5 separate regions of the Homo sapiens genome follow, and regions 2, 3, 4 and 5 are each linked to region 1. The links are contacts of gene promoters, found by promoter capture Hi-C in blood cells and fetal thymus (Javierre and others, 2016). All regions are on one chromosome and are shown on one strand. Each heading gives the region's core, a stretch centred on a gene start or on the middle of the fragment in contact. The rest is flanking DNA. Distances are from core to core; before and after follow the strand shown.

Region 1 (4,347 bases), core at 1,687-4,186:
TTTGGGTAAAAACTGACATCAAATTTGCTTTGGCATACACCTGTATTGTCCTCAACAACTGCCTTAAAATTTGGCTTTCCCAGTCATTACCCTCACTCAGCATCTCCTTGATCTCTCCTCTCCATATTCAAACACATTTTGAAGGCTTCCTGTCTTCTCTCTCTCTCTCTCTCTCTCTCTCTGTATACACACCCCATTCTCAGGGAAGAAAACTATCTTGTTAACCTGACAACCTTACCTAAACTTATTGGAGAGAGCAGAATTCAAACCCTATGGCAATCTTTTGGCAATGTCCTGGAGGATTTGTGTCCCCAAGACAGGGATTTCAGAAAGGGGAATATACAAATCTAGCAGTAAGATACTTTTTCTCAGCAGGAGTTTCTAGTCTCTTTCAAATACCTTGCAATAGAGGATGGCTTGCTCCAATACACACCCGCGGTTCTATGAGTCTGTACTGAAGTCGGATATCCATAATATTTTCCCCAACATCCTATCATTTTTCTCCCTTGACAACCATGTTTTGAGAACTTGAAGCAACAGATATGAAGAGTCTTAAGGGATTGCATCAATGTACGCTAAGATTAGTCTCTACCACATAGTCCAATGACACGGTTTTAGGTTCAGAAGGGATGCTCTACACCCACAGAATCCCACCGAGTTCAGGTGCCAGCTCAGAGAACTCATCACCTTCCTGTTTCCCTTCAAGAGTTAACTGATGGGATAGTATGCAAAGCACATGCGTTCTTGCTGCCAAAATAGCAGCCAAAACTGCCTGCCTAGATGTGTAAGATCCCATGAAATGTCTTGGCAAAAGCTAGTTTAGGAGTGTTGGCCAAGGTGCTGAAGCGAAGCAAGGGGAGTCAGGACCACCTTTGCCACTGAATCTCCCCTCCCCCACCTCTTTTTAAAGACAGCGAGCTTATTCATTTTGACAAGATACCCTAGGATTTCAAATCTGACATAATTTTGGAGAAAGCAGTGCGTGTGTGTGTGTGTGTGTGTGTGTGTGTGTGTGGTGTAGAAGGGTATCTGGGATACATAATCTTTATAGAAATTCTAGTGCCACAAAAATTCTAGGAGGATCTACATTTAAAAAAACACACAACAGTTTAAGCTGTTTATTCCAATTGAACGCTGTGTGTTTCCATCAGATCCTCAGTGAGATTCAGTCCAATGAGTCAATTGCAAAATAAAGTTTTTGTCAAGGGAATGGCAGAAAATGACAAAACCACAATTCTGAATGATCATTCAAAAGTAAAAAGTACTTTCTACTACTGTGTGGAGATTTTCTTATCTCTACTTTTACTCGAATTGAATCTTTTCTTCTAATGTTCTTTTGAACAGTTTGTCTTTGGTGTCCTGAAAATGTGCACGCTGATAGCAGTACCACATGCTGTCCCTGGCACAGAGTGAGCTAACAGTTGAACCACCTCTGGGTAACTGCGGACTGCAGCTAGTGTAAGTGCAAGAGAAGGCACCCTGGCCACCAATTCGTTTCACACTCCAATCACCCCCGCCCGCTCTACACCCCCTGGGCACCCGATGCCTCTTCCCTCTGCCAGGCAATTTGCTTCCGTTCTGTTCAACTTTCCGACCTCTGGCTTTAGAGAATAGTCCTGGCTGTGGGAACTGGCTCTGGGAAGCTTTTGGCGCCCTCCTCATTGGTGACTGGCAAGAGTAACACTTTCACACTCTTAAAAAGAGCCGTTTAGTTCCTAATGATATTTTCTGGCAAAAAAGAAAATGAAACACACAACCCGGATTCCGGTCCACCAAACGCAGGCCAAGAGCGCGGCTGCTGAGCCCCGGTCTTGCTGTGAGGCTGTTGTTCCCACTCGCTTCCCGTTTCCACTAGAGTTGATTTGTCTCTTGCCACCTCTCCCCGGCAGTGTGGACCTACTGCAACGCAGGAACATCTGGGTTGGTATGGATAGGATCCTAGCATCAGATGCTGGCTGCTGCCCCAGGGACTTCCCGCGGAAATCACCCAGCACTTAGAAGCCGTTTCAATAAGGAAGTAACCAGTAAAGCATTGCTGGTGGGAGAACCCCGCGAAACATCTTAGAAAAATATCAGAAACCGCTGGAGACCTAATGACCCACGTCTCCTCCAGCCTGTGTTCCTCAGCCCTTTCTGGAGGAGTATTAAGTGGTTTGTGGGTTTTTACCCTGCGGTGGGAGGGCTGTTCCAAGTACATCTATTTCTGCGATAGTTAACGTCGGGGGGCCCCAGCTCTAACCAGGGCGAGGACCACGGACTGCATCCCTCTCTCTCAGCGCACTGGTCTGTTTACTGGAGGGTGAGAGGGACGCGCAGACCTCCGGACTCAGGGGTTCTGTTCTGTAGATCCCCCCACCCCACCCGGGGTCTCTGGCACTCGTATCACTTAGCACCAGTGTGACTGGCGGTGCATTCCGGCCCCCTCGCGCCCCATTAAAGCCCCTGCACATCCTCTCCCACGCTGCGCTTCTGCTACCCACGCAGCTGCTCCTCTGAGCGTCCCGCGTGCACAAACGCGCCCCCGGTCCTTACGCGTCGGTGGCGCTGCCTCGCTGAGGTGGCGCCGGGGGAGCCCGCAGAGGCGGCGGGGGAGGGAGTGCGGAGGAGAGGACCCGTGAGCTGCGGGGACCTGGGCCCGCCGAGCTTTTGGGGAAGCTGGGCTCCGTTCCCCCCGGGCGCCTGGGGCGCGCGGGAAGGCGCGGAGGACGCGCCGCACTCACCCGCTGCTGCTGCCGGCTGCTGACTGCCACCGCGGCGGCGGACGCGGCGCTGTGCCGGAGCTCGGCCGCCTGCCCAGGTCTCAACAGGCTCCGGGTGAACCTGCGGGTCCGCTCACCGGCCATCGCCGGTCACGCCAATCGCGCCGCGGGCCCGGGGCGCGCCTCCCGCCGGTCTTCCCCGCGCCAACCTTCTCTATCCACCCGCCGTTCAGGAAGCGGAACTCGGAGCCTTCCCCCCCCTCTTCCTCGCTCAACTCGCAAGAGGCGGGTTTTTCTCTCTTGCACCCCCACTCTTCCCACCCCCTTCCCTCCTCTGAAGCTTCTCGAAGACTTTCCAAACTCTGCGCTCCCCCGGGCGCGCGCGGCCAACTCGGCTGGCGGCCGGGCCCTGCAGCGGCGCATCTGGAGCGGGCGTCGCGGGACGCGTGTGGGGCGGCTCCTGCCCGCGCCGCCCACACGGGCTCAGCTGGCCGGCCGGGGCTGTCCACGCCGCCCGGGGGAACTGCAGGCTGCGGGGGAGGGCGGGGGGCGGCCGCCGAGGGGCTCCGGGCGGGGCCTGTCCAAGGCCGTCGCCTGTCCAAGGCCGTCAGCCTCATTTGGAGGTTGCTGGGAGAGTTGGAGCCCTGGATGCATTTGCCGTTTAGACTTCTATTTTCTGGGTCCGGCTAGTGGGTGGGGGCCAAGCTCGGTTCGCCCTTCCACCCTCGGGAAGGGGTCAGAGGCTTATTAAAGATCTGGTGGCTGGGATCCCAGCAGCATCGCCCAAGCCAGCGTTTGGAAGGCTCCCTTGCCAGAAGTCCATGTTCAGGGCCTTGGAATAAGCTTCCCCATTCATTCACTCCTTCAATGAGTATTTATTAAGCGCCTACTATATGCCAGCTCACACTGTTCTGGAAACTGAGGATACGGAGAGGAACTTAGCAACTACACTTTAAGGCTGTGTAGAGCTGATAGGTTTTTTCGGGGTAGGGGTGGGAGACAGCAAGTAACCAAGCGAACAAATAAACAAATACAGAGAAATCAAGGAGACAGTTTAAGCTACTAACACGAACTCAAAACCAATAAATCAGCGTTCTGGGGGTAAGAGACTTTGGGTGGCATTAGGATGAGTAGGCAAGAACCAACTGGCAGGGTTACTATGTAGGGTGGTCAGGTCGGGGGTGGATTTCACAGTTATGCTGTCTCTGCTCTTCTCTTGCCCATACCCATCTAGCCTGCACTTTGCCTCTAGATAGGTATCTGATGAAAGCCTTCTAAGAAGTCTCTTCCTGGGTCATACCCAGGGTGGTTCTGCAATTCAGTGTTGGACTGGATGGGGGGCAGAGAAGTTCTGGCCCCTGGATACTGGTCTGGAGAGATCTGGGACAGCCTTTCCAAGTGGTCTGGTTTTTTCTTAACAGCTTTTTATGGATCCATGACCCTGCCACTTTCTAAAGCCAATGATAGATAGTTATAACACAAGGTCACATTTGGGTATAAAGAATTCTTAAGCAATTGATAAATGCACTTTAGTCAGCTCTTTGTTAGCCAGGATTCAATTAGCCAGAGATGCTGTTTGGGGATCATTTCAGCACATTCTAGAAATCATAACAGGCGTAAGAGGGTAAGAGGCTCTGGCAGATTTGGG
Region 2 (4,790 bases), core at 992-3,491, 1.8 Mb after region 1:
TCTGGTTTGCTGCAGGCCTGCCGTCGCTGTGGAAAGCAAGTATTCTTTCAAAGAAGAATAGAAGTGCATTGGTTTCTAAATAATCCCAGGACGCTAGGATCAGCATCACTTGGGAACTTCTTGGAAATGCACATTTTGGGGTCTTATCCCAAACTTACTGAATCAGAAATATATTTTAACAAGCCTTCCAGTTGATACCAATGCACCTGGACGCTAAAGTTTGAGAATTAATGGCGTAGTGATAACACCCATTGTGGAATCACATATAATGGAATTTGAATTGAAGTAATTCCTAGATGGAAAAACTTGGACATGTTACCTCACAGGGCTGGAATATGAAGATGCAAGAAAAATGTTTAACACAAAACACATAGAAAACCCTCAAAGATGTTATTAAGTAACTTATTAGAACTGCATAAAATAAGTACATAGTTTGTGCTGGAAGGATTCTTCAGCGGGGTAGATATGAGCTGTAGCGCATGGATATTGGGACTGCTGCTTAGAGGGTATTTTGTTTACCTCGGGATTCTCAATTCTGTGTAGTCAAGGTTGTTGGATGCAGGATATTCAGTTAAAAGTTAAAGCAGTGCATACTAATGCTATTGTGGTTGTAGGATTTTTAAGAATAGCATTAGTATTTATGTTGAAGAGTAGTTTTTAATTCTTTGGCCTTCTGATCTCTTCAGCTTTGTTTGGAGACAGTCTCTTTCTGCCACCCAGGCTGGAGTGCAATGGTGCAATCTTGGATCACTGTAACCGCTGCCTCCAGGGTTCAAACGATTCTCCTGCCTCAGCTTCCCAGGTAGCTGGGATTACAGGCGTCTGCCACCACGCCCAGCTAATTTTTGTATTTTTAGTAGAGACGGTTTCACCACGTTTGCCAAGCTGGTCCCGAACTCCTGACCTCAGGTAATCCACCTGCCTCGTCTTCAGTTTAGTTATACCTTCTTTGACCCAGAATTTGGTAAAGACCAGAGGTAAGCACTAGTTTTAGAGTTGAGAATTATTGTAACATAGTGACTTGCAAGCGAAAGCCAAGGCTGAATATGTTTCTGTCCTTATCTTTGTTTCCCATATGTCGTACAACTCCACGGTAGCAAAGATCTCATGTCTACTCTAGATACCTCCATTTTCAGGAAGGATCACAGGAGTGCCCTCAACCTGCTGTGTTTTTTAGATGCAGTATTTTCTTACAACTTTATCTCTTTCAGGGGTCCATTGTAGGGGGAGAAAGAAATATTCAGGATTTAAAGCAGCTGCTCTAAAGGCTACATTCACTGCAATGTTGAGAAGGTCAGTGCCAAACCGTGGCCTACACATGTCGTTTTGATGAGAGCACGCTGCTCCCAAGGCTATACCATGGCTCCTGGATATTGAGAGAGTTTTCAGATAAACATAAGTCACTTTGAATGGATTATTCTGGAAATAATTTCGTTAGCTCTGCCACCAAATTGGCACTGCCCCATCATGAAATGTTTATTTTTCGAAGGCATTAAATATTTTTTTTTGTTCTCCTCATCGGAGAGGCAGATCGCTATCTGTGGTTTTAGGTCAGACAAGCCCTGCTCTGAATCTTGCCTCTGCTACTTAGTGATTGTGTACATTAGACAAATTAACATCCTCCCCACTTGAATTTCTGTAAAGTAGGAGTCATAGGATGTGCTACTTCAGGCCATTGAATTAAATGAAATAACGCATAAAACACGTCCACCTTGTTTTAGGCACAGAGGCTCAGTAAATGTTGTGTGTCGGACAAAGGGAAAAAAGGTATTTGTTGTCTCAAACCTAACTTTATGCCATTCATTTTATAATATTTTTATAAATGAGGTAATTTTATTACCTAACTGCACTGCTTTTCTTTTTAACCATAAAATGCTGAAATGGAGTCAAAGCTTTCATATTATTGTGAATGAGAAAAAACAAACACTTGAAAAAAGTTGAAACTTTAACGTGAAAAAACACCATCTTCAGTTTTATCACTGTAACAGAGCAACTTGTAGAAATTGTTTTGGATGTTTACAGCAAGGTAAACATCCAAAGGTCAGGGGATGAGTAATAAAGTATCTTCTGTTAGTTAATGGGGACAGTCAGCTAGAGAAGGGGACACTGTTACAGGAAATGAGACCTCGTTGAAGGTATGCATCAAAGGATGAGAAAATGCTGTTAGCCCTGAAATTGCTAATATTTTTTTAAAACACGAATTCTTAATAGCAAAGTGAAAAGTTTTACATTACATTTTTTAATAAGGGATAACAAAATCTCTTACATGTATTTCTGTGTGTTTATATTGTATATGAATGTATGAGTGCAGAAAATACTTGACTCACACTAGGTCATAATTTTATTTGTCAGTATATTGGAATATGGGGGTGGGGACCAAGTATAAAAGGAAATTTTCTATATATGTAAAATTAGATACGTACATGTATATGTAAATGTTCTTTAAAAAAACTATTAAAAACGGAAGCGATTCTTTAAAAGGTAGATTTCCTTTTATGTTGCAGTCATAGCCACGTAAGCAATGGACCTCATATTTTTTTTCAACAGGGAGCCTCTTAAACAGAATCTTACCTGTAAAACTCAGGAGCCGAGAAGCTTTAAGAACAGTGAGGTTGAAGGGCACAGGCTCTTGGTCCTTGGCAGCGATATTAGGAGGCGTGCCTAGGGAACCTCGGATTCCGGGGAGCTGGACGTGAAACTCTGTGGTGGAATAGAAATCCTCAGGGCATGAGCTATACCTAAAACGTAATGGTATTAAGAATTCTGGTAAGTGGGATTCACAAACTTGTTCTGAAGACAATTTCCAAGGTTGTCAGCCATGTCACCATATGGATGGCTTCTCATGCAGAGGAGTGAGTGATTATTGAGAAAAAAAAAAACCCACCTGACCCGTATTTTACAAAGTAGGATTCTGTGCACTTTTTTGAGGAATTAGCTTTTTAAAAAATCCCTCCAAGTTGTGACAGCTGTATCGCTATTAAAAGCTATTTGGCATTTTAACTGACTGTTGTTTAGGATTACAAATGACTCGGGGAAAAAGAAACAAGGAGTCAAAGGAAGTGTATTACTTGTGTTTATAGCCCTATCATTTTTTTGTTGTATGGAAGCAACTACTCTATATTTATATAGTAAAGTGTTTTTTTAGAGTTAATTTTTAGTTAATAATGAGCCTTCATAAGAAAAATAATTTCAAATGCTAAGTATTTGTTAGATTGTTACTAATAGTGGTAGTTAGTGATATTACATTGTCTTTTTCACACATTGAAGAGGGTTTCCTGGTGACAGCTGGAGCTTGGGGGAGGGGGAGTTACTTTCAATCAACCAGCTGCTTTGTGGCAATATCATGATGGTGATATTTCAAAGCCCATAGATAACTTTGGCTGTTTCAGGAAAGAAAATCTATCAAATTTCTGGGAAGCAACAGATAATGGGCAAGAGACCTTTGGGATCTACGTGATGGCCAACTAACAATGTGTGCATTCCGGTTTGCATGTTGGGGTTATTTACCATCTAGTTTCTTGGACATTGTTACATGCACCTCATAATTACACAGTAATAGAATCTAGCTCTAAGGGCAGGAAAATCTCATTAAGGAGAGGAAAGGAGAGTGAAAAACCTTGGTGATGCACTGCACGCTTTAACATAATACCCTATTTCATTTATTCTTGATGGTGATTCTAGAATGTAAGTGGAATTTTTTGCCATCTATGGATAAAGAAACAGAAGCTCTACAGTACTGGTTGTATGATTTGCCCAAGGCCACATACTAGTACATGATGGCCTCCATATTTGACCCCAGATCTTCTGGCATTAGCTCTAGGAATGTTGTCATTACACCAACAGCTGTTTCTCCAGGTGTTAACTTGCTTATGCATTTTTAATGCAAAGTCACAATATCAGGATAGTAATGAATGAAATAAATATAAATGTTACTTACAATGACTTCAGTTTTATAAATAATATATAGGGGTGTGTGTGTGGACTTGTGTGTATGTGTGTTTTGGCAACTACATATAATTTGGGTTTTTTTTTTCTTAAGTAAAAAGTCTCTTGGGCAATACTGTGAAAAAAATTTCACTACGTTTTTTAAAAATATATTACTGATACCAGCAATATTGCAATTATGTGTGTTGCAATGAATCAGTTGTGATTCTAAATTTGAACAAACCTAGGAATGAATTTTGTGCATACTGCCCATGTAGTCGCCCTCATCCTAACATATTGAAGGAAATTTCTTGTTTTTTTCTTTCAAGGCGTATTCATTTTTCATTCATTTATTTATTTTTTTTGAGACAGAGTCTCACTCTGTTACCTAGATTGGAGTGCAGTGGTGTGATCTTGACTCACTGCAGCCGGGACCTCCTGGGCTCAGTTGATCCTCCCACCTCAGCCTCCCTAGTAGCTGGGACTACAGACATGTGCCACCACACCCAGCTAATTTTTTTTTCTTCAGCTTTTAAGTTCAAGGGTACGTGTGTAGGATGTGCAGGTTTGTTACATAGGTAAACATGTGCCATGGTGGTTTGCTGCACAGATCATCCTGTCACCTAGGTATTAAGCCCCACATCCATTAGCTATTGTTCCTCCCTGCCTACCACACCTCCCTGACAGGCCCCAGTGTGTGGTGGCTCCCTGCTCTGTGTCCATGTGTTCTCATCATTTAGCTCCCAGTTATAAGTGAGAACATGCAGTGTTTGGTTTTCTGTTCCCATGTCAGTTTGCTGAGGATAATGGCTTCTAGCTTTATCCATGTCCCTGCAAAGGACATGATTTCATTCCTTTGTGTGGCT
Region 3 (4,663 bases), core at 139-2,638, 1.7 Mb after region 1:
TTTGCATCTCGGTCCTTAAACAAAACATGTGTGCTTTTGTGAACTCCTTCCTACACCATCGCCTGCCCCTTTACCCAGCAGCCCCTCCCCATCACATCTCCCCCAGGAAGGCGAAGAAGGGGTTTTGCCTTGGTTAACTGTAACCACTCCAGGAGAGTAGTCTTAAGGCTGATTCCATGCTGTACCTAGTAAAGGTTCAAAAGTACTTGTTGAGTGTTGAAAGACTGTATAAATATGATCCTCAAGCCCTTTTAGCTAATTGGATAGTAGCTGCCCTTTTTCACATAAAGGTGATAGACAGTGAGGCATGGCAGAATGGCCCTCCTTATGATCCCAGAGATAATTCCCTGTAGTCCAACAGAGAAAGCCCTGTTCCTACACTACAGACCAGGCAGTCCAGGCAGTTCCAGATTCCCACTGGACGTCCGGAAAGCACAACAGCCAAGCCTCAATGAACTTCATTAACTTGATTCCCCGAGACTTGAGAGTCCGTTATAGTAAGAAAGAATAAAAATGTTGTAAATGTCTATACTGAATCAAAATCACAAAATACTTTTTTAAAAAGACTACTGGTAGATAGGTTCAAATAAATCTGTTTTTTAAAATGCAAATAACTGTCCTTCAAGGAAGAGGGCTTAAAAAGGCTCTGATGATCACAGTGGTTCCAAGGTGGTACATAACCTATAAAGTTCTGTCTCTGAAAAAGTAAAACACTAACATGGGGCAAATTAAAATGGAGAGAACATGGGGAAATCGGGAAGCAAATGTCCAACTATGTCCAGTGTGGAGTTGGTTTGAAACACTGTACTACAGAATGTTGGACAATTTGGGGGAGGAAAATGATGTAAAAAAAACAAGCAAACAAAAAAAATATTCAAGGTTTGGGAAAGAGCCACAAAATTAATTGAAGATTTTAAAAATAAGAATGATGAGTAAAACCTAAAAATGTTTAGTATTAAAGGAAAGCTGAGACCTGACTTCACAAATGTCTTCAAACACATGTAGAGAAACATTTCATAACAGGTTGGTGGTCTAGGTAAATAAACTATGTTTCATCCATACAAGAGTATTAACCAGCAATAAAAAGAAATGAGCTATCAAGCCACAAAAGATGTGGATGAATCTTAACTGCATATTGCTAAGTAAACGAAGCCAGCCTGATAAGAATACATACTATAATGATTCCAATTTTATGACATTCTGGAAAAGGCAAAACTGTAGAGACAATAAACAGATCAGAGATTGCCAGGGGTTGGGGAGAGAGAGGAAGGGTTGAATAAGTGAAGCACAGAGCATTTTTTAGGGCCTTGATACTATACTGCATGATACTGTAATGGTAAATACAAGTAATTAAGCATTTGTCAAAACCCAGAGAATTTATAGCACAAACAGTAAACTTTAATGTATGCAAATAAAAAAATACACCTAGGAAGTCACTGATCCCAGGATGGAATGCAGAATGTGACAAAATAATCTAAATGTGTTATAAATTCATGAAAAGACTTCAGTAAAAGAGGTAGGAGAATAAGGTGCTGACCGAAGTAACTCTGGAAATGAGGGGAACCTATAAGACTAAAGGCAAAAGAAACTTGACAGAAGCATTGTACTCTAGTTGATAAAGTTGTTTCCCATGGGGCTAGAGTTAACAATCCTGAACTGCTATGTATATGTATGCAGTGAAATTGAACAAACAATTAAATGGATCAAGGATAGTAACAGCCGGACTTCACACTGTTGAGGTGGGAGGTGACAGATAAACAAGGAGGCGAGAATGGTCCATGTGGAAATGGATTGGAGTTAGAGACAGCAATGTGAACTCATGCTTGGCTTAGTACAGATACAGATGGTTACATATAGAAATATTTATAGATATGTGTATACGTATGGGTTAGTACACACATACATTTCCATGCTCTGTCAGCTGAGAAGGCAAAGAAGAAATGACATCTCAGTAGCAACAAACACTGCTAGTTCCCAGATCTTAGTTTCCAATATAATTGTCCATCAGGTATCTGTGGGGGATTGGTTTCAGGATTCCTGTGCCTACCAAAATCCATGGATGCTCAAGTCCTTTGTATAAAATGGTGTAGTGTTTGCATATAACCTATGCACATCCTCCGGTATACTGTAAATCATCTTTAGATTACTTATGATACATAATACAATGTAGTTGCTATGTATAAGTGTTATACCGTATTGTTTAGGGAATAATGACAAGGAAAAAGTCTGTATATGTTTAGTAAAGATGCAACTATCCTTTTTTTTTTCCTTGAATAGTTTTGATTTGTGCTTGGTGAAATCCATGAATGCAGAACCCAAGGTTACAGAGGGCAGACTGTACATTCTCCAATAAAAGGAAGCAGCTCCTTAGAGAAACTGATGATTTTAGAACTGGGGCAGGAAATAAACAAGGTGATCCTGTAGTATATTGGAGTGTCAAAAAGTAAGGGAATGCTCAAAAAAAATACAAAAGCAAGAACCCACAATGATGGGAGTATGTCAAAGGGACACAGGCGCCAACTGAAAGGGCTAAAGCTGGAACAATTTGAGCAACAAAATAAAGTGTTACTGGATTATGACCTGAAGTATAAAATAAGCAGCCATGAGTCCATACTAATATAAATAGAATTGACTAAGTAAATAAGAAGCAAATCTCCTGTGCAGAAGAATCGTGTGTGAGTGTGGGGTGGTTCGGGTGGGGGTGGGTAGATAACTGCCCAATCCTTAATTGTGGGTTGTGTATTGTGACTTTCTGCCAAAGAGCACAATATGGAAAGGCGGGAAAAGGCTAAATTTATAGCAGAAAAACCTGACAAACACTCCTTCAGCCAAGTTATCAAGGTCAACATCGACCTTGAGAAATCCTGTTGATAACAGGTACACTTGATAGGTGATGAAATGGCACCTATCAAGGTGATGAAATGGCACTGTTACAAAGTGTAATCCTTGGTTGGGTGCTGTGGCTCATGCCTGCAATCCCAGCATTTTGGGAGGCCAAGGTGGGCAGATCACTTGAGGTCAGGAGTTCATGGCCAGTCTGGCCAACATGGTGAAACCCCGTCTCTACTAAAAATACAAAAATTAGCCTGGCATGGTGGCGCACACCCATAATCCCAACTACTCAGGTGCTGAGGTAGGAGAATCGCTGGAATCCAGGAGGCAGAGGCTGCAGTGAGCCAAGATCACATCACTGCACTCCAGCCTGGGCAACACAGTGAGACTCTTTGTGGTCTTCATCCCCAAAACACATTACTCAGTCTAATCATGAGAAAAACATCAGACAAATCCCAAATGAGGGACATTCTATTCCTCAAAACTGTCAAGGTCATAAAAAACAAGAAAAATCTGGGAAACTGATACAGCCTAAGGAGACACATAATATAATGATTAAATGCCATGTGGTATCCTGGATGAGACCCTAGAACAGAAAAACAAGGACATTAGGGGAAAACTGAGGAACTCTGAATAAAGTATGGACTTTAGTTAACAATAATGTGTCACATTAGTTCATTGTGACAAATGTATTATACTAATGCAAGATGTTAATAAAGGCAGAAACTAGGTATGGGGTACATAGTAAATCTCTGTACTGTCTTTGGGATAATTCTGTAAATCTGTAACTGTCCTGAAATAAAAAAGTGTATTTTAAAAATGCTATTGAGTTAAAAATGAGTGATAAAACAAGCTTAGGTGACTATATAAATATTCAGGTATTTTGTTTTCCAAAGGATTTTCAAACCTATTTAAAGTTCCTTACCACTTATAGAACCCCAAATTGTAAACTGTATTTGATGAATTATTGTTCTTCATAGAATAGTTAGATGATGGAAAATTTCTTTTAGAGGAAACTCGCTGATATGGCTTGGCTCTGTGTCCCCATCCAAATCTCATCTTGTAGCTCCCATAATTCCCATGTGTTATGAGAGGGACCCTTTGGGAGATGATTGAATCATGGGGCGGGTCTTTCCTGTGCTGCTCTCATGATAGTGAATGAGTCTCATGTGATCTGATAGTTTTAAAAACGGGGGTTTCTCTGCACAAGCTCTCTTTTTGCCTGCTTCCATCCACATAAGATGTGACTTGCTCCTCTTTACCTTCCGCCATGATTGTGAGGCCTCCCCAGCCAGGTGGAACTGTAAGCCCAATTAAACCTCTTTCTTATGTAAATTGCCCAGCCTCGGGTTTGTCTTTATCAGCAGTGTGAAAATGGACTAATCCACTGACCCTATTATTAAGTTTCAGCAAATAAATATATGTTGTATTTGAAACCCAGAAAAGTCATAGTCAGTTTAATTAGAATTGTCTCATCAATTATAAAATATTTTCTATTTATAAATATTTTTTCTAAGCATTTCTTAGAAAATTCATTTCCTGTCTTATTTCCTCTTTTAGCAAACTGATTAGTTGCAGTACCAAGGTTATGATTTTTCCATTTATTCTTCTGCATATTTAAATATGGTCATCGTGTTTTATTTTAAATTTGTTTTTAGAACTTAATAGTACTTTACAGTATATTTCTATAATTTAAATCTTCTGATAAAAATATAATTTATAGCCTCATGATTTTTAAAAAAGGCTATTTGTCACCACTACTAAAATCAGAATGAGGGAAATTCTCTCACATGTAAATGAAGGATTTAAGTTAGCGATAAAGGAATTTCCT
Region 4 (4,806 bases), core at 2,297-4,796, 1.9 Mb after region 1:
GGAACTTTTGTGGAAAATGCTGAATGTTGGAGGATGACGCAATGAGTTCTCCGGACTGCCAGCCTCCCTTCCCTAGATATTTGAAATTATATTAGGGCAATTAGATTATAACTCAAACTTCTGAAAACCATTTAGAGATAGATAAGAAATTCATTTCACTGTATTGTACTCTAAATTGTAAATGAGATTCAAGATTAATTGTTTAATAGGTTGAAGTTTTAAATTGAAACTTCCTTCTATGTTATTTTATATCATATATGCTTCACCATGAAGGTTGATTTGAAACCAGAGTTTCAGAAATACCAATATTATTATATTCTTTTCATCTAAATTGAAGTTATTATTATTTTTTTAACTGGTCCTGGCCACTTCTTTGTATCTCTCAAACTGCCACTTTCTTTGTCATTTTTACAACTATTAATAGGTGGCCGATTGTACTGAGCCTGAGCATAGAATAAAATAAGTACAGTGGTCCCCCTTATCTGTGATTTTGCCTTCTGCATTTTTAGTTAGCCCCAGTCAACCTTGATCCAAAAACATTAAATGGAAAATTCCAGAAATAAGCCATTTATAAGTTTTAAATTTCACACTGCTCTGCATAGCATGGTGAAATCTCACCCCGTCTCACCCAGGACGTGAATCATCTCTTTGCCCCGTGTGTCCATGCTGTCTCTGCTACCCACCCGTGAGTCACTTAGTAGCTGTTATGATTATGAGATGAGAAAAGCATAGTATATATAAGGTTCAGTACTATCTGTGGTTTCAGCCATCCAGTTGGGGGTCTGCAGATAATGGGGGGTGACTATAGAATTTCTTAGCTTGGCTGGGGAGCTAAAAGCATAGTTCCTACTATTCTTGCCAGAAAATGGGAAAAAATGTTCAATCCCATAATTTTATTATATGAAGTAGTGACACGGACAGGAGGCAGAAACAGTGGGTAGAAGAGGGCGGTTCCCAGCAAAGGCCCCACCCTCAAGCCTGGAAACCCACAGCCCTAAATGGGAACAGGCATTCCTGTTTTTGCATCCAAAAGCTGCCTATTGGCCCACCACACCCCCCTCTCCTGTATCCATATAAACCTGAGACCCCAGGCTCCAGAAGGAGACAAGGAGATGAACAGAAGAGCAGAAGAATAGCAGAACGGCGCAACAGAGAGAAGGAGCATCTGAATGCTAAGAGGGAGTTTACCTGGACATGATCGGAGAGGAGATATGTCACTGGACAGCCAAACTCCAGGGGAAGACCATCTTCCCACTCCATCCTTCTTCCACCTCCCCATCCATCCCACTGGGAGCCACCTCCATCACCCAATAAAAGCCCCACATTCATCCTTCAAGTCCACGTGTGATCTGATTTTTCCTGGATGCCAGAGAAGAAACAGGGAAACAGAAAACTTTCACACTGGCCCTCTGCCTTTGTGGAAAGGCAGAGGGTTCACTGAGCTGTCTAACCCTTAAGCTGCCTGTGGACCGCAAGGTTAAAAGAGCGCACTGTAACACACACCCACTTGGGTTTCAGGAGTCGCAGATACACACCCCTGGACGTTGCCGTGAGGCTGAAGCCTAGGGGCACTCATCCCAGCTCCTGCACCTGCCCATCTGTGTGCTCCCCTTCCCGTAAGGGGTTTAAGCATGCACGGTCACCAAACAGACAAGTTACACCACTGTGGCACATCCTGCAAGCGGGGGGGGAGGGGGGTCAGGGAACTCCTGTTTCAGTAGATATATCTGATGAAAATAATGCTCTCCTGAGGGGATGATCGTGTATGTGGTGTGTGTGCGTGTCTGTGTGTGTGTGCACGCGCATGCATGTGCCATGACTTTTAGCACGTGTGCATGTATGTGAGGGCTTGTCTGGGCAATAGTGTCATTTAGTCAGCTAATGGGAACAAGCATCAATGCTGTTCTCTTTACAAGGCTCCTGTTTGTCTCTTTCTTTCAAGTGTTCCTCATTGCATGTTCTTTTCCTGAGAGCCAGCGAGTCTTTTCATAGCTTGGAGACAAAGAAAATTACTCAGAACCATCTTGCTTGTGGTGTTTCAGGGAATCTCCCCTAGGCTGCTGCCATAGTAGGCGAAATGTATTGGTTTTGACTCTGAGTCTCGTGTAGGTTACCAAATGGCGGATTCTTAGCTCTGTGATTGCCGTGGCTCAGCAAGCACCCTGAGCTGAACATCTAGTGGTTTTAACTTACCTCCTGTTGGTCTTGGTGAAACGGTCCTGGCACACTTGAGCCATTTACTCAACATATCCTTGAGTGCCTCTCATGTGCCTGGCCCTGTCCTGGGTGTTTGGAATACATATGTAAAAGCCACATAAAGGCTATGTTCTTGGAGTCTCCATCAGGCTCTTTCATAACTTTCAGTTTCCCACCTTCTGGAATGAGAGGTCACTATTCCAGGCTGTGGGAATGCGTTCATTTGCTTGGCTTTTTTTTTTTTTTAAGCTTCTAATTTTGTATAATGTATGAATGAGACACCATTGCTGCCCTCAGGGAGTTTGTGTGTGACAGAGAGAGACGGACAGGCAGGCAGACGTGTAAGTACTGTGCCACCAGCAGACTGGCTTCGTGCCAGAATAAGGTAGGAGCCTCAGCTCTGAGGGGAGGCAGGAGAAGGAAAGAACGGCTCTTCAACTGGGGTGGCATTTTTTGACAGAGGTGCTGTTTGGCTTAGCCTATGGTCAGAGAGTGCTTGGGGGATGTGACAGTGGGGCATGTGGGAATGGAGGTAGTAGACGATGAGGTCTCCACCCTCTGACTTTGCAGAGATGGGCAAGGCCAAGTGTTGGAAGGGCTTAAACACACACCGGAGTATTCTGTGAGAACCAGTGGATTTCAGAGGATGGCAATGACACCACTTGCCTTCTGCCTCAGGAGGATAACTGATGGCCGTGTGTGGGATGCACTGGAGAGCAAGAGCTGGCTTGCAGGGAGACCAGCTGGATGATTTTCTTTCATTTATTTTATTCATTCAACACACATTCATCTGGGGTTCACTCTGTGCCCAACACTGGGCATTTCCAAATAGTCCAGATGGCAGTAAGCATGGTTGTGGCAGTAGGAATGGGAAGGCTGGGAGGGGTATGAGAGGCATTACAAACGGGAAGTGGGAGTGGCACCCCAGAAAAGTCTAGTTTAAGGTGCTAGTGGATGTGTGCATGTGTGCGCGGGGGTGTCTAGAGGGTGGCGGGCAGCTGGAAATTGAGGTCAAGTGCTTAAAGAACAACTCGTTGTGTAGGACCCCCCCCTTTGTGGTAACAGCAGAGGTTTTTGAGAATCGCCAGTAATTTCTTAAACTCAGGCTGGTTGGGAGGTCATTCAGCCAGGGAACTCCACAAAGAGTGTTGCCACTTGGGTCAAAGTAGACCTCTGAAAATAAATCTTACAAGTAATTGCTGGTTTTAGATGCCAGTTTAAGAAGAGTTAAACCACTGTCATGCCCTAACGCAAACACTTTCATGCCCTAACTCATCTTTCAAGTTTGAAATTTAAATGTATGTTTCTTTGTTCTGAGTGACTGAAACATACACATGAAGACAACTTTGGTGGATGCAGGTGGGCATCTCAGTTCCTTTTGCTGAGTTTCACTTGCTCTCTGCTTCACTCATCCATGGTGTAGAAAACTGCAGCAGTCTGCCCTGCCATAACACAGATAGACATCATCCCTCACAATGGCTGGATAATTCCAGATTTAATGCCAAACAGAGAAAACTGATTTTATTTATGTTTTGTGATAAGAGGTACAGAAAAAAAACGGAAAGCGATGTAATGACTTGTCTTGACCAAATGCTTCCACTGCTCTGGAGGAGACAACCCACTTCCCCTGGTTAAGGAGGGGTGTTGCGTTTTAAACATGTGGTGGTTGTTATTCATTGTACTTTTTTTTAAGGTAGGAGATGTTGTTCTTTGGACTGAGTTAAATGCTGCTTAGCATAAAAGACTTGATGTGGAACAAAGCCTGCAGACTGTGACTATTTGACATGCACTGGGCTAATGAGAAGACAGAATGTCTCTAATCAGCAGCAGAACAAACACTCACAAAGGGTCTCCTTCCCTCCTAGGACTTCCTTCGCTGGGCATCTGGCTGGGATTCTTGTTGGACTAATGTACACTCAAGGGCCTCTGAAGAAAATCATGGAAGCATGTGCAGGTACAGAATAAAACACCTTTGGCATGACAACAGCTTGGAAGTTCATGTTAATTTTAATGTGAACAGAAGCAACCCCAAGTTTCCCTGTGGTTCAGCTCAAGAATTCCCTAATATGCCTGTTTTTCTTTTTAAACCGAAAGGTAAAACAACCAGTGCAGTTCCTTACATTGCTCCACAAAAGAGGCTGCAAACTTAAATTTCGAATCTGATACTTTCTTAGGGGACAAATATCAGTATATATTTATACCCTCAACCTTAATGCTACCCGCAGAAAACCACGATTTCCTAAAGAATGCAGAGAACTAAAGTGCCTTTAAAATAATGCATTCTTCTATAATAGTCCATGAATTAATATACGTGCAAGGCAAAGGTGAAAAAGAAAACAAAGCCTGGACTGAAGTGCATGGCCAGTATTTTAAAGAATTCAGACTGATGACCGGGTCCTTGGTGGATGAGCCATATATTCATGCATGGCGAAACCAAGTCTGTTATTGCTTGAAGCTTAGCTCCTGCTTTTTTTAATTTTGTTTTTCCCTTCAAATTGATACTCAATGAAAATATTTCATTTAGAAATACTTGTATTTTTTAGACCTCTTAATTTTCAATGCGATTCTCATTTTGACTTGTAAGAAAACTGGTTTGCAAACACTTGTTTT
Region 5 (4,794 bases), core at 2,019-4,518, 1.1 Mb before region 1:
AGCTCCCCCAGAACGTTTCAGTCCCAGAGCAGCTTAGTAATCACTTTCCAAAAACATTTATCAGCACTGCTCCTGACCAGCAATCTCAAATATTTAGCAACTTACCCAAAACGCATGATTCATGAATAAAATATTTGACCGAATAAAGGCTGCTAACTTTTTTTTTTTTTTGATACGGAGTCTGGCTCTATCGCCCAGGCTGGAGTGCAGTGGCACAATCTTGGCTCACTGCAAGCTCTGCCTCCCAGGTTCACGCCATTCTCCTGCCTCAGCTTCCCGAGTAGCTGGGACTACAGGCGCCTGCCACCACACCTGGCTAATTTTTGAATTTTTAGTAGAGACTGGGTTTCGCCGTGTTAGCCAGGATGGTCTCGACCTCCTGACCTTGTTATCCACCCGCCTCGGCCTCCCAAAGTGCTGGGATTACAGGCATGAGCCACTGCGCCTGGCCAAAGGCTAACTTTTTTTTTTTTTTTTTTTGAGACGGAGTCTCGCTCTGTCGCCCAGGCCGGACTGCGGACTGCAGTGGCGCAATCTCGGCTCACTGCAAGCTCCGCTTCCCGGGTTCACGCCATTCTCCTGCCTCAGCCTCCCCAGTAGCTGGGACTACAGGCGCCCGCCACCGCGCCCGGCTAATTTTTTGTATTTTTAGTAGAGACGGGGTTTCACCTTGTTAGCCAGGATGGTCTCGATCTCCTGACCTCATGATCCACCCGCCTCGGCCTCCCAAAGTGCTGGGATTACAGGCGTGAGCCACCGCGCCCGGCCCAAAGGCTAACTTTTAAAGAGTGTTGTCTGCATCTACGTTCACATCATGCAAGAGTCATTATTCTGGCCGGACACCAGTGGATCATGCTTGTAATCCCAACACTTCGGGAGGCCAAGGCGGGTGGATCACGAGGTCAGGAGATCGAGACCATCCTGACCAACATGGTGAAACCCTGTCTCTACTAAAAATAGAAAAATTAGCTGGGCGTGGTGGCAGGCGCCTATAGTCCCAGCTACTCAGGAGGTTGAGGCAGGAGAATCGCTTGAACCTGGGAGGCGGAGGTTGCAGTGAGCCAAGATGATGCCACTGCACTCCATCCAGCCTGGGTGACAGAGCAAGCCTCCATCTTAAAAAAAAAAAAAAAAAGTCATTATTCTGTCCTTGCCTTTTTCAGGTCCCCACCTTCTCCCCAGGTCTCATGCACTCGATCTCTCTCACTCCTTTCTGCTTTACAGACCCACAGCCAGGTCCTGCCAATCACTCCCCTCCTTGTTGGAAGTCAGCTACAGGTGAACCAGCAGGGAGAGGCCACTGCCTGCTCACAATCAGCTCATTATCTAATTGAGGAAAAAGGCACAAGCTCACTCAAAAGCAAAATCCAAAGGACCAACAGGAGTTGGGGGCTTCAGGCTTTTTCTTCCCATTCAGGATAGGGTCAATGTCACTTCAAAAGGTATAATTACAAAAGGCTAGAGACCACGCCTTCAGCTTTAAGAGAATAGCAGTACCTTCCATCCTCCAGAAAGCTTTTGGACTTGTGGACTATCCCTATTTAAGACGGCTCATTGCATCAAGGAAACACAGTTTCATTCAATAAACATCAGTCATTTCCTTCAAATTCCCACCGGAAAGCTACTGACATTGTAAACCTTTAGGATTTGAAAGACGCTAAAGTTTAAAGTCGAATCATAAATACTGTTCCAATCCAATCACTCAGGCCCAGAGCTGGTGGGAGTTCTGGATTGCATTTCCGGCTTCACCAGTATCTCTGTAACTTAGCAGCAAGCTACACCTCCACCAGCCTCGGCTTCCTCTTAGGAGAAATGAGAAAACTGGACCCAATCAGTGTTTCCCAAAAGCATGGTGGGCGTCCAATGCAAGATGTCACAGTGCAAGAGAGGACTCTGTGTGCATGCCAATTAACATGTTTTAGTTATTAGTTTACTCTGTCTGGTGAGTAATGTTAGTTTTCCTAATAAATAAGATTTCCTTTTAAAATAAATGCATCCAAATATTTTTAAAAATGAGTCACTTTCACAAAAACCTATTTAGTAAATAAGAGTTCAGGTGATTCTAGCAGCCGTGGCAAAAATAACTGATCTAGAGGCCTGGCGTGGCGTGAAATCCCTGAGTACAGGGGGAGGAAGAGAGCGAAGGCGGCTGGAGTTCCTCGCAAAGAAGCAAGCCCCGGGCACCAGGGTCCGCAGTGACCAGCCGCCGGTCCTCCACGCTTCCAGAGGAGACGATTTGGAACTGACCCGGGAGGGCCAAGAAACACCTTCCGAGTACCAGGCTAAACCCCGCCAGGGAGAGAGACCGGGACGAAGGTCCCAGGCTAGTGCGACACCGCAGGTCGGGGTTCCCTGGTTGGAGGAGCGCGGTGGGCTGGGAGGGGCGCGTTGGTGCGCACTGGAACAGGGGTCCCCGGCTTGAGCAGCGCGGTGAGACAGAGTTCCCGCGCTGGAGGGGCGCGGTGAGACAGAGGTCCTGGGCTGGAGAGGTGCGTTGGGGCGCACTGGAACCGGGGTCCCGGGCTTGAGTGGCGCGGTGGGACAGAGTTCCCGGGCTGGAGGGGCGCAGTGGGACAGAAGATCCGGGCTAGAGGGGCGCGGTGGGACGGAGCTCCCGGGATGGACGGGCGCAGTGGGACAAGGGTCCCGGACTGGAGGGGCGCGTTGGGGAGCATTGGAACAGGGGTCCTGAGCAGGAGGGGCGAGGTGGGCTGGGAGGGGCGCGGTAGGGCGCACTGGAACAGGGGTCCTGGGCTGGAAAGACACGTTGGAACAAGGGTCCCGGGCTTGGGCGGCGCGGTGAGACGGAGTTCCCGGGCTGGAGGGGCGCGGTGGGACAGGGGATCCGGGCTGGAGGGGCGCGGCGAGACCGGGGTCCCAGGCTGGAAAGGTGCAAGTCGAGGCTGGAGGACCGGCGGGAGGGAACCGGGAACCCGGCGGAGCTAAGGGGCGCAGAGTGGGGGTGGGGCCGTGCTGCCGGGGGAGCCCCCTCACGCAGGAAGGACCGGGGCCGCGGACCCCACCGCCCCCACACCCCGTCGTCGCGGAGTTCGGGCCGCCCCGGCTGCGCCCGGGCCCTACCTGTCCTCGCTGGCCGTGATCACGCCGTCCTCCTTGGGGATGAGCAGCGCGGCCGTGACGGCGTCCTGGTGCCCCTCGATCTTGCTCAGCAGCACCGGGCGGCTGCTCTGCGGCCTGGAGTGGATTTCGGCCGCCATGTTCGCGCGGCGACTGCTGCGGCCTCCTCGGCAGGCAGCCCATCAGCTGACGCCTGGGCGGGCGGGGGACGCGCCGGTTTCCCTTCGGCTGCTGGGGCCTCTTGGGCGCCGCGCCGCCGTAAGCCCCCGAGTGCTGCCGCCGCACCGCCCGTATTGCCTGGGGATGCCGCGCAAGCTGAAAGTCTGTGGCTGGGAGAGGATGCCACGGGGCGCCTGCGGAGAAATGGGGAAAGTAAGGAAGGTTTAAAAGTAAAGCCATTCACCCAGGAATAAATTGAGCACCTGGAGGGGACAAGGAATTGTCCCCCAAACCAGAGATTTCAGAAATTACAATACTACATTTCATCCATTTGAAGAAGCCATTGTTTGAAAGGCACACACTTTCAGAAATGTTAAAATGTGAAAAAATATAGTGCATCTTAGAATCTTTGAACTACAATAGATAGCACTGAGTGGTGACCATATACCAGGCATTAACTCAGTGTCTTTGCATCTCATTTAATACTGATAATTTTAAGAGATGAAATAGATGCTCTTGTATTCCCATTTTAGAGATGAGAAAACAACCAGAGAAGTTTGATCACTACCTTAAGGTTGCACAGCTATGAGAGGGAGAAAAGCAGCCCTTGATCTCCAGGAGCTGCCTGGTACTATCAGCTGAGCTTTGGTGTTGCTAGGAAGTGTTTGCTTCCTGTGGAACATAAACATCAGACGAGGCCACTCCATAATCACATCTAAACACGGCCAAAATATGAGCGATGTACAAGCCACAGAAATTACCAAACATCCCCCTATCCTGGCTAATATGAGTGACTCTTATTTCTTTATTAATTATAATGTTAACCGCTATCTAGTCTTCCTCCATTTAGATAAGATTTATTAAGATATGCAACCTTAGAATTATACGCATTTCCTGACAACATCCAGTCCACAGGAGAGCCTCTCTTCCTTAAGCTCTCCCAGGTCACCTAACACAAACACAAATCCTATAATAAAACTGTCCGAACATCCCTTTACCCAGACACCTCACCATTCCCAATGGTGTGTCTTCTCCCTCCAACAAGCAATCAACCCCATTTGTTCCTGGTGGTTTTTGGCTAGAGGTCATTGACAACCAGTAAGTTCAAGAGCCAAAATTTGGACTCAGGAAGTCAATGACTCCAAACTTCTGCCCCACTATATTATTCTGACACCTGAATTGCAGAATTGCATTAGAACCGTACTATCCACATGACTATAGAGCACTTGAAATGTGGCTTGTCCAAACTGAGATGTAGTACAAGTGCAAAATACTACAAGATTTTATAGACTTAGCACAAAACAAAAAAGATGTAATATAGTTCATCAATAATTGTTACAATGATTACATGTTGAAATGATACTATTTTGGATATATTGAGTTAGATACTATTAAAATTAATATGACCTGCTTATTTTTTTAAGGTAGCTAATAAAAACTTTAAATTATGGATGTGAATCAGATGGTACTTCTATGTACAGTGATTTACTAGAACTTTCTTTTTGTTTTTGTTTTGTTTTGTTTTAGTTTTTTGAGACGAACTCACTCCGTCACCCA

What was found. The method cuts DNA at HindIII sites, captures the fragments that hold promoters and counts their contacts. A CHiCAGO score of 5 or more calls a contact.
Region 2: a fragment that was not itself captured here is called in contact with the fragment with the promoter of DOCK10 in region 1 in 4 of 17 cell types (activated CD4 T cells, naive CD8 T cells, non-activated CD4 T cells and 1 more); the score reaches 13.0 in activated CD4 T cells.
Region 3: a fragment that was not itself captured here is called in contact with the fragment with the promoter of DOCK10 in region 1 in 2 of 17 cell types (fetal thymus and total B cells); the score reaches 5.3 in fetal thymus.
Region 4: a fragment that was not itself captured here is called in contact with the fragment with the promoter of DOCK10 in region 1 in 1 of 17 cell types (total B cells); the score reaches 5.5 in total B cells.
Region 5: the fragment with the promoter of WDFY1 here is called in contact with the fragment with the promoter of DOCK10 in region 1 in 1 of 17 cell types (activated CD4 T cells); the score reaches 5.7 in activated CD4 T cells.

Annotation. Positions count from the first base shown.
Region 1 is chr2:225,039,532-225,043,878 of GRCh38, forward strand. It overlaps DOCK10 (dedicator of cytokinesis 10), which reads right to left and starts at 2,937. Exons shown (of 56, transcript NM_014689.3): 1 at 2,721-2,937. The coding sequence starts at 2,843. RefSeq lists an enhancer at 1,644-1,983 and silencers at 2,534-2,773, 2,964-3,333. The HindIII fragment of the contact is 1,396 bases long and covers 1,642-3,037 here.
Region 2 is chr2:226,836,862-226,841,651 of GRCh38, forward strand. It overlaps RHBDD1 (rhomboid domain containing 1), which reads left to right. Exons shown (of 9, transcript NM_001167608.3): 2 at 1,212-1,293; 3 at 2,548-2,766. Among named protein-coding and RNA genes, the nearest start is that of RHBDD1, 3.2 kb to the left of the region's middle. The HindIII fragment of the contact is 703 bases long and covers 1,891-2,593 here.
Region 3 is chr2:226,773,677-226,778,339 of GRCh38, forward strand. The region is part of intron 1 of IRS1 (insulin receptor substrate 1); the gene reads right to left. Among named protein-coding and RNA genes, the nearest start is that of IRS1, 24 kb to the right of the region's middle. The HindIII fragment of the contact is 4,590 bases long and covers 1-3,683 here.
Region 4 is chr2:226,902,732-226,907,537 of GRCh38, forward strand. It overlaps RHBDD1 (rhomboid domain containing 1), which reads left to right. Exons shown (of 9, transcript NM_001167608.3): 6 at 4,062-4,150. Among named protein-coding and RNA genes, the nearest start is that of RHBDD1, 69 kb to the left of the region's middle. RefSeq lists a silencer at 2,116-2,265. The HindIII fragment of the contact is 2,206 bases long and covers 2,444-4,649 here.
Region 5 is chr2:223,942,067-223,946,860 of GRCh38, forward strand. WDFY1 (WD repeat and FYVE domain containing 1) reads right to left here and starts at 3,269. Exons shown (of 12, transcript NM_020830.5): 1 at 3,082-3,269. The coding sequence starts at 3,218. It overlaps LOC124907989 (a long non-coding RNA gene), which reads left to right and starts at 1,158. Exons shown (of 2, transcript XR_007088100.1): 1 at 1,158-2,341. RefSeq lists enhancers at 2,081-2,200, 2,211-2,270 and a silencer at 2,841-3,020. The HindIII fragment of the contact is 5,306 bases long and covers 1,514-4,794 here.